Regions from separate parts of the Homo sapiens genome. Here all the other regions are linked to region 1. Evidence: promoter capture Hi-C in 16 types of primary human blood cells and fetal thymus (Javierre and others, 2016). All regions are on one chromosome and are shown on one strand. The core of a region is centred on a gene start or on the middle of the fragment in contact, and the rest is flanking DNA. Distances in the headings are between cores, read along the strand shown.

What was found. Contacts are between HindIII fragments. The CHiCAGO score rates a contact against its expected background, and 5 or more counts as called.
Region 2: a contact is called between a fragment that was not itself captured here and the fragment with the promoter of METAP1D in region 1, in 4 of 17 cell types (naive CD8 T cells, non-activated CD4 T cells, activated CD4 T cells and 1 more). The highest score is 7.0, in naive CD8 T cells.
Region 3: a fragment that was not itself captured here is called in contact with the fragment with the promoter of METAP1D in region 1 in 1 of 17 cell types (activated CD4 T cells); the score reaches 5.4 in activated CD4 T cells.
Region 4: a fragment that was not itself captured here is called in contact with the fragment with the promoter of METAP1D in region 1 in 5 of 17 cell types (megakaryocytes, activated CD4 T cells, naive B cells and 2 more); the score reaches 7.2 in megakaryocytes.
Region 5: a fragment that was not itself captured here is called in contact with the fragment with the promoter of METAP1D in region 1 in 1 of 17 cell types (megakaryocytes); the score reaches 6.5 in megakaryocytes.

The regions. Positions count from the first base shown.
Region 1 is chr2:171,998,670-172,001,222 of GRCh38, reverse strand. It overlaps METAP1D (methionyl aminopeptidase type 1D, mitochondrial), which reads right to left and starts at 1,270. Exons shown (of 10, transcript NM_199227.3): 1 at 1,214-1,270. The coding sequence starts at 1,253. LOC124905590 (a long non-coding RNA gene) reads left to right here and starts at 1,314. Exons shown (of 3, transcript XR_007087296.1): 1 at 1,314-1,544. RefSeq lists a silencer at 1,276-1,575. The HindIII fragment of the contact is 8,153 bases long and covers 1-2,553 here.
Region 2 is chr2:172,490,836-172,493,388 of GRCh38, reverse strand. ITGA6 (integrin subunit alpha 6) reads right to left here. Exons shown (of 26, transcript NM_000210.4): 21 at 2,267-2,365; 22 at 2,058-2,168; 23 at 1,866-1,964. The region is part of intron 2 of PDK1-AS1 (PDK1 and ITGA6 antisense RNA 1); the gene reads left to right. Among named protein-coding and RNA genes, the nearest start is that of ITGA6-AS1, 26 kb to the right of the region's middle. The HindIII fragment of the contact is 4,096 bases long and covers 1-2,553 here.
Region 3 is chr2:172,431,638-172,434,190 of GRCh38, reverse strand. The region is part of intron 1 of ITGA6 (integrin subunit alpha 6); the gene reads right to left. Among named protein-coding and RNA genes, the nearest start is that of ITGA6, 5.3 kb to the right of the region's middle. The HindIII fragment of the contact is 605 bases long and covers 982-1,586 here.
Region 4 is chr2:171,691,436-171,693,988 of GRCh38, reverse strand. It overlaps DYNC1I2 (dynein cytoplasmic 1 intermediate chain 2), which reads right to left. Exons shown (of 18, transcript NM_001378.3): 3 at 1,095-1,212. Among named protein-coding and RNA genes, the nearest start is that of DYNC1I2, 5.2 kb to the right of the region's middle. The HindIII fragment of the contact is 1,216 bases long and covers 662-1,877 here.
Region 5 is chr2:171,711,955-171,714,507 of GRCh38, reverse strand. It overlaps DYNC1I2 (dynein cytoplasmic 1 intermediate chain 2), which reads right to left. Exons shown (of 18, transcript NM_001378.3): 6 at 1,682-1,741. Among named protein-coding and RNA genes, the nearest start is that of DYNC1I2, 26 kb to the right of the region's middle. The HindIII fragment of the contact is 3,280 bases long and covers 1-2,553 here.

The DNA of each region.
Region 1 (2,553 bases), core at 21-2,520:
TCTCTGCTGAACTTTACACACTGACTTCTATGGAGTGACCACGTCATGCAGTACCGAGAAATGAGTCTTAAAAAAAAAAATTAGAGTCATGTTCAAATGAGCAATCTGCCTCTTACCATTTATGCGACCTTAGTAATGTTACTTAACCTCTCTAGCCTTACTTTTCCCTTCTGCAAAGAGAAAATAATTCCTAACTCACTGGGTTTTTGTTTTTGTTTTTGAGACAGGGTCTGGCTCTATTGCCAAGTCTGGAGTTCAGTGGTACGATCACGGCTCACTGCAGCCTCTTGACCTCCCAGGCTCAAGCGATCCTACCACCTCAACCCCCAGAATAGCTGAGACTACAGGCATGTGTCACCACGCCCGACTAATTTTTAAAATTTTTTGTAGAGACGGGGTCTCATTCATTGAGTTTTAAAAGGAAGCAAGCATATGTAAGGCGCTTAACACAGTATCGTGTACTTAAAAGGCACTTAATAAACAGTAGCTGTTACTATGAAAATAATATTTACCTCACAAAACTGTTCCTACATGCCTGACGCTTAAGTAGCTCCTCAAAATATGATAGTTTTCCTCTTCCCCCGTCCTTGGAAAAACTTTCTAGTTCTTTCCAACAAAGATTCAGCACCTAGTTCAAATCCAACAAAGATTTCCCCAATTCTGCTGCAAAGGCATTTGTATATTTACTAAAATCTCAACACTCACGCAGGATAAAACCTACTTAGAACTACCCAGACATCCTTTCTTATCTTCTTAACTTTAAGTCACTGGAAGAAAACCATCACATTTTGCAAGTCCCCAAAAAGCATGCCTGCATAAAAGCTCTAGGGAAGGGAACCGGGTGTCCAGATGCATTTCAGAATTACCATAGGTTTCCTTGCTCGGCATACAGAATAAATGTTGGTTACACTAATGATACAACCGAAGTTGGGGAAAAAAACTTCAGACAATGGCCCGCAAATCTCAAGGAGTAATTGCGAAAAGATGCCACGTGGTGACGTGTTCTAGGCGGGTGATCAGTGAACAAATTTGTATGTGTGATCCTGTGGTGTGTGAATGTGTCATCGTGTGTGCCTGCGTGTGTTCGTAAACACTGAAAGTACAGTCGTGTGCGCCGAGAAGTCTGAGCGCGGGTGCGCATCCCTTTGGACCCGGGTGCGTACCTAGTGAGCAACCGTGCGAACCCTCACGGGGCTCTCCTCCACGCGCTTACCTCTGCGGACGAGCAGGTGGACGCCACTGGGCGCCGCCATGTTGGCGTCGGTCACGTGGCCGCGAGCACTCGCTCGCCGCCCCGCCCGCTGGAGCCGGCCAGTCGCAGCCCTGCCGAAGCCCTGAGGCGTCGAGGCCGCCCGAGGGGAGCGCGCGTGCGCGCGCGGGGCTGACTGCGGGAGCCCTGGCTGGGAAGCGGCTAGGGCACCCGGGCAAGCAGCAGAACCCGCGGCCGGCTGAGTCCTCTCCAGCCGCGAGAGGCGGGCTCCAGCCGCGGCTCGCGCGCTCGCTCTGAGCCCCCGCGCCCAGGTGGGATGGAAGAAGCCTGTCAGGTAAGCGTGGCATCCAATATTTATAGCATCAACATTTTGGTGCATGGAAACGTGAAGTTGGGCGGAAAAAATAAAGCACAATCTAGTGTTCAACATAGCACTTTGTATCGTCTGCCACTCTGTTGCAAATTATTCCCCTGGATTCAGTTGAAAGGTAAAATTTGGTTCAAAGTCACCAGCTCCCCTTTTGCTGTCCCAGAATCTACATTACTCAGCAGAGACTCCAGACAACACAGGATCTGTGTGTCGCTGCAAAATCTATTCTAGGTACCCCAGTGGGTATGTTCAGGAGACTTCTCTTTCTCCAAGGACGCCTTCTGCTTGGCAGTATTAACTGGAGTCTTAATCCTAAATTTGGAGTTTAAGTATAAAAGGATGACGCCTGCCAATTGCATTGCCAAGAGAAGAAGCCTACAGAAGGCCAATTGTGAATCAGATGAGGGAGCTGATGTATGCCTACTGATGACGGTGCCCATTTTTACCAAATTCACTGTCTCTCTTACCTGTGTTCTGGGGTAGATGCCATCCTGTCATGGACCAGGTGTTATTCATCTTAGTAGCCTCCGTGCCCGGCACAGAACCCGATACCCGAGGAATGTCAGGTGAAGCAATTGAACACTGCATGAAACCAGTCAAACTGAGAATGTAACCGTTTCCAGACTTTAAATGCAGTGAAGATTGATTAGGATTCTCAGTGAATGTGTGTGATGTCTTCTAATTAATTTTTAAGCACTACACACTCAGTGAATAATCTAGACAATTCAGAACAATTCAGAAATAAGGAACAAGTGCAAGCCCCTTCCTCGCCCTCTGTACATACCATAGTCCCACTCCCCAGTTAACCACCGTGTGCTCAATTGAGATCTTTGCCTTTTACACACAGGCAAATGTAAGTATTTTAAATAGAATCATATGACTTGCTTTTTCCATTCCAGTCATCATAGGCATCAAATCTTAGAACACTTAGTTCAGACTTATTCTTTTTAATGACTATATAATCTTGATATTT
Region 2 (2,553 bases), core at 28-2,527, 490 kb before region 1:
AAGCTATACCTGCTGCCTTTATAGATGCAGAGAAAGGATCCTTAGGGAAGGTGTGGTTTATTTGAAAGTCCCTTATGATGCCTGTTGATATGTCCTGGAGAGACCGGGACAGTGCTGGTTGATACCACTTATCGCAGCAGCTTGCCCAGTACAGCATTTGTCTCAGGCAAATGTATCCTGGGGCTGGGTGCAGTGGCTCACACCTATAATCCCAGCATTTTGGGAGGCTGAGGCAGGCGGATTGCTTGAGTCCAGGAGTTAAAGACCAGCCTGGGCAACATGGTGAGACTCTGGCTATACAAAAAAAACTGAAAAATTAGCTGGGCGTGGTGGCATGCCTGTGGTCCCAGCTACTCAGGAGGTGAGACAGGAGGATTGCTTGAGCCCAGGCATTCAAGGCTGCAGTGAGCTGTGTTTGCGCCACTGCACTCCAGCCTGGGTAACAGAGCAAGACTCCATCTCAAAAAACTAAATAAAAACAAAAATGTATTCTTGCTTGGATAATAAATCGTAAGGACTGCTATATTTCAGAAAACAGAATGATTAGGGAGGCTCCCTGAATTTTCAGCTAGCTAAATGACTGAAGCCAGAACATTTCCATAAGTAGACTGGCAGATTAACTTAAGAACAGTAATTCACAGTATTTCTTTCTCCAGTCTCTTTTGCAAAACATTCCCATTCATTATTCCCACCATGACATGCAGTCATTCTGCCTCGAGATCTTTATACAAGTCCCTGTGGGTTCTAGACTCCCACAGGGAACCCCTCACTATTGGTTCACTACAAGGTTCTACACCTAGTCCTATTCAACATATTTGTCATTACCTGGATGAAGACATAGAGAACATGCTTCTCAGTTTTTAAAACTTTCAGGGATAGAAAGTTGAGAAAGCAAATGATGAAGCAAGATTCAGAATTACTTTGCAAACTGAAACAATGGACCCAAAGCAAATCACATAAAATGTAAGGATACACTTAAAGGCATACATTTAGATTTTTACAAATAGCTCAAGGACAGGATACTGGAAACACAGCTTGACAACAAATTCTGATGAAAACACCTGGAAGTTTCAGTAGAACACTAACACAAAAATAGCAGCTGCTAGAAATTCAAACATGCTGCTCAGCAATGGTTTGAAAAAGCAAATTTTAGGCAGGTCTGACAGAAGTGTGGTGCCGAGATGCTGAGAGGTAAAGGCCCCAGGGTAAGTGGGACCAAGCAGACCCCACCTCAGCTGCTCTGTCCACGTGGGAATCAAATTGCCCAGGAAGGGAGAGGCCAGGAGCCAGTTCAGCTGTGCCCAATGTGACGCATAACTCAAGAGCTGGGTGCATAAGCTCTGAGAAGAATAAGAAACATCCAAGGAGGCATGACCATTTCCTTCAATTATTTGAGAGGCTGCTACATGGCCAAGAGAGAGAACTTATTTTAGACTTGTTTGAGGGGCATAACCAGGGACTTACAAGGTTCAGTTCAGGAGTCAGCTATGAAGAGATCTTTTTTAATAATTACAGCTGGCCAAGGGATGGGCCATCACTGGGGCATTACACCAATGGCTGCAGCATTAGAGATGGTAGAAGACACAGGTTTCTAGAGGGCTGTGAGGTGCACCCATTCTCTGAATTGAGCCAGTAGTTCTCAAACCTACCATGGGCACTGCTGAACTGGATGACCCTAGATTTACTTCTTTTTTTCAATGATTCTATTAAAATACAGCTTGCAGTGCCAGTACCTTAAGACAGTTTTCTCCGTAATGGGGCTATGAGGGAAATGAGCACCAAAGCACATGACTTCAGGACATGAGTGTGGGGTACAGGGAAAAGAGACATGTTCTGAACCTGAATGAAGCTGGGGAACCTCTCACCTGAGTGCCTGCATTTGGCAGCCTGATATTTTCGGCAGCAGCAGTCACATCAATGAAGGCTCGCATGAGAATGTCCAAGTAGTTCAGTTTGGAATATTCCTGTTTGGAGACAGTGAATGCATTAGGGAAGTGAAAAGTGTCCTAGGCAAAGGCAAATTACTTCCATGGGACAGCCTCAAGCCAAGGTCATACCTCTAGAAATGTGCTGTTCCATAACCTCGAGCGCAAAATAAGAGACGCCTTGCTGTCCAGCCCCCGCAGCGGGCATCTGATGTTCACACAGTTCACGTTCACGCTACAGTTCTAGAGAGAAAAAGAAGAATGGTCATCAAAAGACATTGTTCTGAAGAAATCCTTCCCCTCATCCTCTCAAATATTCACAGCTCTTGAAAAATACTTACAAGAGTCTGGTATTTTCTTTCAGCAAATAAAGAAAATTTTCTGTTATCATCTATCTGTTTTTCAGTAATTTCCCGTTTCTTTCTTGAGTTGTGAGACTCCTGAAAAAAATTATATCCAAAATAGTTCCAATTTATGTAATTCTTTGTCATTACCATACAAGCCTCTTGAGCATATCCTCCCAAACAGTGCCAGATTCACATAATCAACAATATTTGCCTCTCTCCTGCCAAAGGCACAGAAGTAAGTGTAAAACCAGCAAGTATTATCACTCTAAATTCAAGTTTAT
Region 3 (2,553 bases), core at 35-2,534, 430 kb before region 1:
CACATACTTTCCAACCTTAGGCAGTTTTGTCATCAATAATCCACAAGCTCCTTCCTAGCAAACATTAGTGCCAAGCAAAAAACTAAGAAAAATAAATCGTTTTCAAACCTGCCCTGGGTGTTGTGCAAGTTATCCAGCCTCCTAGGGATGGAGGTGTGGGGGTGCTTTCAAGGTCATAGAGGTCTAAGAAGGCCTGGAAACCAGACAGGTGGTATTCCTTAGCAGTAAGCCCAACCTATAACTGCACCACCCACCCTCCATGGGTATCCAGCTCACAGTCACTGCCCCGTCATGTCTATGCACCCATCTGTCCACTCATCTCTGAACACTGAGACCTCACTGGGATTTATCTATGGCTTAGTAGCTACGAAGGGCTGCTAAGTAGAAGGCATGGCTCTTCTGAGATGCACTTTTCAACTGGAGAGTGGAATGGAAGAAAGGGAGAATGTGATGAAAACCAAACCTTTAAACGTGATGAAAACCAAACCTAAAAGGAGAAAGCACATACACAGCACAGGCCGGGAAGCAGGGAAGATGCAGATTGAAGACCAAGTTTGCTAGACATGCCGCCACCACTGCACCTCTTACAGCCTTGGTTTCCTCATCTATTTAACAAACACAAAATGCTCACTCTGGACCAGGACTATTCTAATGTGCGAGGATACTAGCTTCACAGCTGAAGGCAGGAAGGCCTAGGAAGGTTAGGAATCCTGCACAAAATCATAGCTAGTCAATGGCAGAAAAGGGTTTGATCCTACCTGGCTCTAGGCTCTGCTCTTAGTCACTACATTACACTCTGCCTTCTGTGTAAAGGAGAAAAGCTAGTCTGACTCAAACGAAGAAGACTTTAAGAACAGCTTCTTGGAGCACACTTATGGAAACTGACGTAACAGATCTAGGCTGGGCTGAGAATCACACTTTTATAAAAGGTTGCCCAAGTAGTTACCCTGAAGACCAGCCAGGTTTCAGAACCCCTAAGCTTCCTTCCAGATATAAAGTTATTTGATTCCAGAGTTGTACCCAAGCCCAGAAAGGGAAGATGGGCACCGGGGGCTGAGACTACGTCCACTTCCCACTGCTGCAGTACGTAATCTTTACCATCCTCCCAGGAGCCAGCGGGGGTGCTACACAGATCCCCAGATCCCATGCTATGGCTCCTAGGCTCACCCCCGGAGCAGGTAAGCAGCCTTCCCACCATCCTACCGAAAGAGTTAAATATATCCAAGATTCCCTTACTATCCTTGAAGAAATAAACCTGCCGCTATCAATTCACAAGTGACTTCACACGTGTACTGCACACTTCCATTTGACCCCCACACCCCTGTCAAGTTGCTTTCAGAAAGATCTCTATTCCACAGTCATCCTTCTCTGTCCAGCCTCATAACAACCAACCACCTCAGCAAGTCCCGAGTACCCACTGCAGTGTAGGTCAGCCTGTATTTCTGGGGTTAGGTTCTAAAGTCTGCCTTTAGGGCAAAAGCCAGGTGAAATTTACAAACACTCATGAAAATCCCTTAGCTGGAACCCCCCGCCTTTGAAAAATCAAAAACCAAGAATTAACGTCTTGTGCGTTTCTTTGCTAAGCTTACAGATTCCGTTTCCTCAGAGGCAGAAGACACCAAGGCCTGAGCAAGGAAGGGCAAAGGGTTAAAGAAAGGGATTTCTCCCTCTCTCCACCCTCAGCAGGAAGAGTTGATGTCACAGGTTAAACTGAGTGTATAATATCAGTCTCTATTGTATTTGCAAGGCATATGCTAGGTGCTAGCAGGCAAAGAAATGAATGTAAGACCCCTGCCCTCACATAACCTACAATCCAGTTGGGAGAGATTAGATCATGTCCTAAAGATAGTGGATCACAGTTTAGCACAAAACATCAGAATTGTCAGACACAATGTGCTACAGACATCCAAAGGAGTTAAAGACATTGCTTTAGTGTAGGATGGGGAAATTTTAAACTGGTTCTTAAGCTATGATTATATTCTTAAAATGGGCTGATTCAGCACTAAATCAGTGTTTCAGGCACAATTGACCCTGTCATCTAAGCTTACAACAGTATTTTCTGTTTTGTCTCACTGTCCCTCTTGAAAATACCAAATAATTCACTGGCCTCACTGTCCACAGTAATATGTTGAGCCGAGGTCTTCAGGAAACCATGCGCCATAATTCTGGTACTATTTGGTTATGAAAGCTTAAATTAAATCTCAATATATTGTTATGCTAAGAGAGTCTATATAACTGAGAACACAGAATAACCACTTCTTTATAATAAAGGAATCCTTTTATATAAGCATTTATCCTGACTTCCCCAACAAATTATTTATACCATATAAATACTTTGACCCTTTTTTTCCCCAACCCTGTCATTACTTGGTCTCACACCAGCCTGTGTTAAAATTAAACTTGCCTATTTCTGCTTTCTTGCAGAGTCCTAAGACTTCCTGTAAGTCTCGCTGCCCGTTTTGGCTTTTTCTCTACTCTTAGCATTCAAGGTGACCCAGCAATCCCTGGAAGATGGCCCTGGGCCACATGGCACTCCGAGTGAATAAATGCAAG
Region 4 (2,553 bases), core at 20-2,519, 310 kb after region 1:
ATAAAAGAAAAAAAATCCTATAGGAGAAAAACAAAAGCCAAAGCACAGAAAAAAAAGGTAACTCAAACAAAGGCTAACAAGCAACTTGGTTTAGTTACAAGAAATTAAGTGTTCTGATTCATTTACTTTTAAAATTGCATGTTCAACATAAGCTTATTGAATAAATACATAAAATTAATATACTTCAGTCTTCAAATTCTACAAGAAAAGGAAAATGAGCTGAAAGAAATAACAATGAAGCTGACCATGAGAGTAGCCAGCCTTTTCATCTTGAAACCTTTTAGAAATATCAGCTCTAAGGACAGTTATGTTGCAGTTTCACAACAAGCATAGAGCATTTACAATCTCCAGTATTTGTCCCCTGGACTAGATAAAATTAGCCCACCAACTAGCCCTAAAATGTTAGGTCTCTAAAGGATAAAGGCCATGTTAAACTAAAATACTACATAATAGCACCCAGCACAGAACTATTTTAAGTAAGCATTTGTTCCTGATATGTAACTAGATTGTCCTGTGTACCTCTACTATTTCAGCTTTTTTGGTCTAGTACAGTTATCAAAATGAATAACCCAGAAAAATAATAAGATTAAGTCAAATCACTTCGAAAATAAGCCACAAAATTATCTCCCTTATTAGCATTAACAGCAGAAGGCTATAAGCTTATCCTTCCACTCCTGTACCTTTGAATACTAATATATTTTGCATTCTAACAATATAAGTCTGATTGTATCTCTCGCTAATCTCCAGAAAGGAATATAGAGTTCAGATCAGGAATCCTAGTTATCTTTGAGCTTAACACAGTATGGCACATAAAACTTGCTTAACCAATGTTTGTTGAAATAAATTACTGATTTAATAAGAGAAGTCAATTGGTAGTTCAGTATATGTTAATAATTACTCTTGCAGCTCTTTTGAACAAATAAAATAACCATGTACTAGCATATCTGAAAAAAAGACAATTCCAAATAAAAGATTAATAATTTTAGAGACACAAGGAAAATATGTAAAATATATCAAGTCAATCCACTCAGCTATGTCTGAGCTGAACAGAATCTATGCCTATCTCTTATAAATGGATATATTCTTAACCTTACCAATGGGGGATTCTGGAGTTAGCCCCATGCTTTGAAGCAATGCTTCAGCTTCTCTCCTTTTTTTTTCAAGATCTGATTCTTCTTGCACAGGAGCAACAGCTTCCTTCTTCTGGTCTGTCTAAAATGTTTAGGTTAAAAACTTATGTTTACATATAGTATGAAAAATTTGTTTGCAAAAATGTTTTAAATAATATGCTAACACTGTATACTTTTAAGGCATGAACTTAGTTTTGAGTACAGGTTAAGTTCTTTTTATAGTCATTAAATGAAAATCATTCTCAATAGAGTTCTAGTAAATAACCTTCAAATGATATGTACTAAACTGCTCTATCTTCATATGTAATCAAGGAGTTTCCACAAAAATTTTCCTAACAGACAAATTCAAGAAGTACAGTCAACTTCGAATTATCTACAGTATGAAATTGCTGTCTATGGTCAGGAATAATAGACAACTTCCCCCAAGTGGCACAAAAGGTTAGATACAATATCACATACAATGAAAAAATTAAAGTGTAATTATTTAAGAGGTAACAAATTTTAAGTGAATGACAATATGATTTGTTGAAAAAGAGTATCACAAACTTCTGTATAAAGTCTTCATTTTATTTGGGATTGTGTTTTGTAAAATTAAACTCACTTTTGCATAGCACAAAACATTTTGTTATGAAAATTTTTGTCAGCTTTTATCTCGGCTATTTATCGTTTTAGCACAATCTGCTGGTTAAACTAGATAAACCTCAATACTCTCAGATCATCCAAGACTTCTCAAGTAAAATGTAAGCTTTCCAAGGAAAAGTTTTTTTTATGTAAATCTCAAATCCCTATGCCACCTAGACAACTATTACTCAGACACTGTCTGGAGTGAATTTTGTTAGCCATAATATTCTATGCCATTTTGACTTAAAAGTCATCAGAAAAATTAATCAAAATAACAAAACAGGTTGTAATATCAAGCTGATGCTTCACTGTTGATAAAAATATATTAATAGACTCACAGTTTAATACCATTGTATTATCTCTTGTAACATTTTTATAAACTTTGTTTTTTCCCATTGGTCTGTGTGACTCAATAAGTTTTACAAGCTTTAAATTAGGTATAAATCATGCAATAGATATCCCTTAGAACCCATTTTTGCCAGTTATGGCCATCATTAGAAAACAAAAATGAAATTTGCTCTCAGCACGGAAATGTTTAGGGATATAAATATTATTTTGGAATAGCTCTGCCAACCTGAATCATGCTTCTACCAGTCAGCTTTTAATCTAATAGCTAATGTAAAGCTCCAATCCTCTTATAATGTCTCACAGAAAGGTTCAGAATAAACTAGCAAATTCTTCAATTACAGGCCTTTACAGCATCATAGTAATGCTGCACATAAATTGTACCTTCAACTTTTCTACTACTTATTTTTCTCTTAGTCCCCAAGAGATTTCTGGCAGTCTTGGCCATTATTTAGGC
Region 5 (2,553 bases), core at 37-2,536, 290 kb after region 1:
AAGTACGCTTCCAGACTCCCAAAAAAGTTCTCAGTGATGAAGCTGCCTTAAAAGGATATACAATAAAGACACTGCTGCAACTTTCAGAATATAAAGCAGGCTATCGCTGGTAATATAACTTTTTTCTTATATAAATATTCTTTTCAGTTCTATTTAGTAACTAAATCCAAGTCCTATACAATCTAATAAAGCATAACAAAGTACTATAAAGTATAATAAAATTAGTACATTTTAAAAATTAATGTTCCAAAATGTGGGCCATAACAATTTTTTAATGTCTTTTCTAGTTTAGAAATAAAAAAGAAAGGGAAAAAAAAAGTATAGTCAAAGAATTAAGTGGACAATTTAAGTAATCTGAAGTAATCTAGAAGTCTAAGAATAAAATTTGAAATAAGAAACTTTATATTCTGATTTTTAAGATGCAAATTATATAAAAAGTAAATCACTCACATAGCTGGAAAAAAATCGTCAAGCCAACAATATTAGGAATCAATTACCAACTTGAATGCATACAGAGTCTAACAGAAAAAACCATAATACTAAACAAACGAAATATTCCAAGATTTTATAGGAGGAGGTGGGTAGGGAAGTAATACCTCACTTATCCAAAAGCCACTTTTACTGAAAATAAGGAAGCAATGGGAGGCAGGAGGGGGAAGCCTCAGTGTGGCCACTACAGAGGGCTTCCAGTTCAAGTACAAGAAACTCATATATTTTTCTTACATGCCTCAAATCAAGGCTTATTTACCTTACTTTAGACACAATTCCAAAAGGTATATTCATATGTTTTTGAAGCTGTAAATTATCAGGGGAAAAGGGCTATCTGAGTCAGGCAAAATGGCAGCAGCAAACATTTATAATTTGCATTAGAATCTAGAATAAATAACTGAATGAATGAATGGATGGATAATCTTATCTCTATGTCAACAAAATTAAAAAACCATACATACAGCTTACAACACTAACTTCTAAAAGAACAAGTTTTAAAACTCTAAAAAAGAGACATACAGAAACTATAAAGCATTAGTTTTCTAACGTTTCACTAAGAAAATATGCCAAAAAAAAAAGCAAAAAACAAAACAAAAATAAAAGGAAGAAAGAAAAGAACCTATTTATTTAACCTAGGGGCTCAATGACAATTATATTAAGAATATTCATCCATACATTCTATGAATAATCTATTAATCCATTCATTCACTCATTTATTTATTCTAGATTCATGAATAGTTTTATTCTAGATTCATGAATAAATAGTAATGAATGAATGAACAGTGTAAGGACCAGCATCTCCATTATTCTCAAAATCTTAGAAATCATCAGTGAATTTTAATACAGAAAAATAAATTAATATTCATATCAAGTAACCCTGAAAAGGTTCAATTACATGTAGAATATTAGAAGAAGTCTGAGAAGTTTTTTAATACATCCTACAAAACTTGTATTAAAAACATAGAAATAATTTTAAACATTTGGACACTTAAATGGACTCAGGGTACATAGAACATCACACAGAATATTCTTTCACTAAAGATACTGGATAAATGAGGTGTCACAGTAAAATATAACTCTTGTCCTTACTACGTGATACAATATTATAAACTTAAGCAAAATAAAATTAGGACAGTTTCACAAAGAATCAAATTCATTATAAAACAGGGAAGGTAAAAAATCTATTCAATACCCCAAATCGGAATCTGAGTGAAGCTGAAGAACTGATGGATCTGTATCCCAATGCAGCGTCCTAAATGGTTGTAGGACAACCATGAAGCATTAGCAAAAAAGGCCATAAGTTAGTCAAGCAAATACATTCTATGAATAGCTAAAGCTAAAGTACTATTCACAATTAAAAAACACATGTTCTGGTTAGTATTAAAAAAAAAAAATCGAAAACAAAACAAGAAATCCACCAGGTCACTCAATCATCTAGTGCATGCAATAGGCTTCCTATGGTTAAAGATGCAAGCATACAACCCAGAATAGTTAAAAGACATTATTTGCAGATTATGGGAAACTAATATTGTATAATAATAGATCTGCTTTAGAACAACTAAAGTCAGACAACCCAAGTTAATTATTTATGGATAACAAGCTAGGCTATAAAATGGTTGAAATTTTAAGATTCCTAATGAAAACAAACACATTAAAACATCTTGGTTAACATATTCTAATCTTCCCCAAAGCATTACATGTGTGCAGGAAATTGTCATACTGGTAAAGGAAATGAGTCAACACATAAGCCTTTTGGTAATAAAACCAAAGACTATCCCACTGGGATACAAAATAGCTAAAGTTTCCAAAATGTGACCCTTCTGTAATTTATGGGTTAAGCACCGCCTTGGGCTTACGTATCATCTGCTTAAAGAAAACAACTAAAGATTTCTGTCTCTAGGAAAAAAATAGATTTTTCCCTGGAAAAATATTTTATGTTCAAATGTCAATCCTAAATATTGAGTTATAAGTTTTAGCATCGCCTGCTGGCTAAGTAACTTACAGAGGATCTTTTCCACTTAAGCCAAACTTAGTTACTAATAGAACAAAAGGTGCTTTATCATA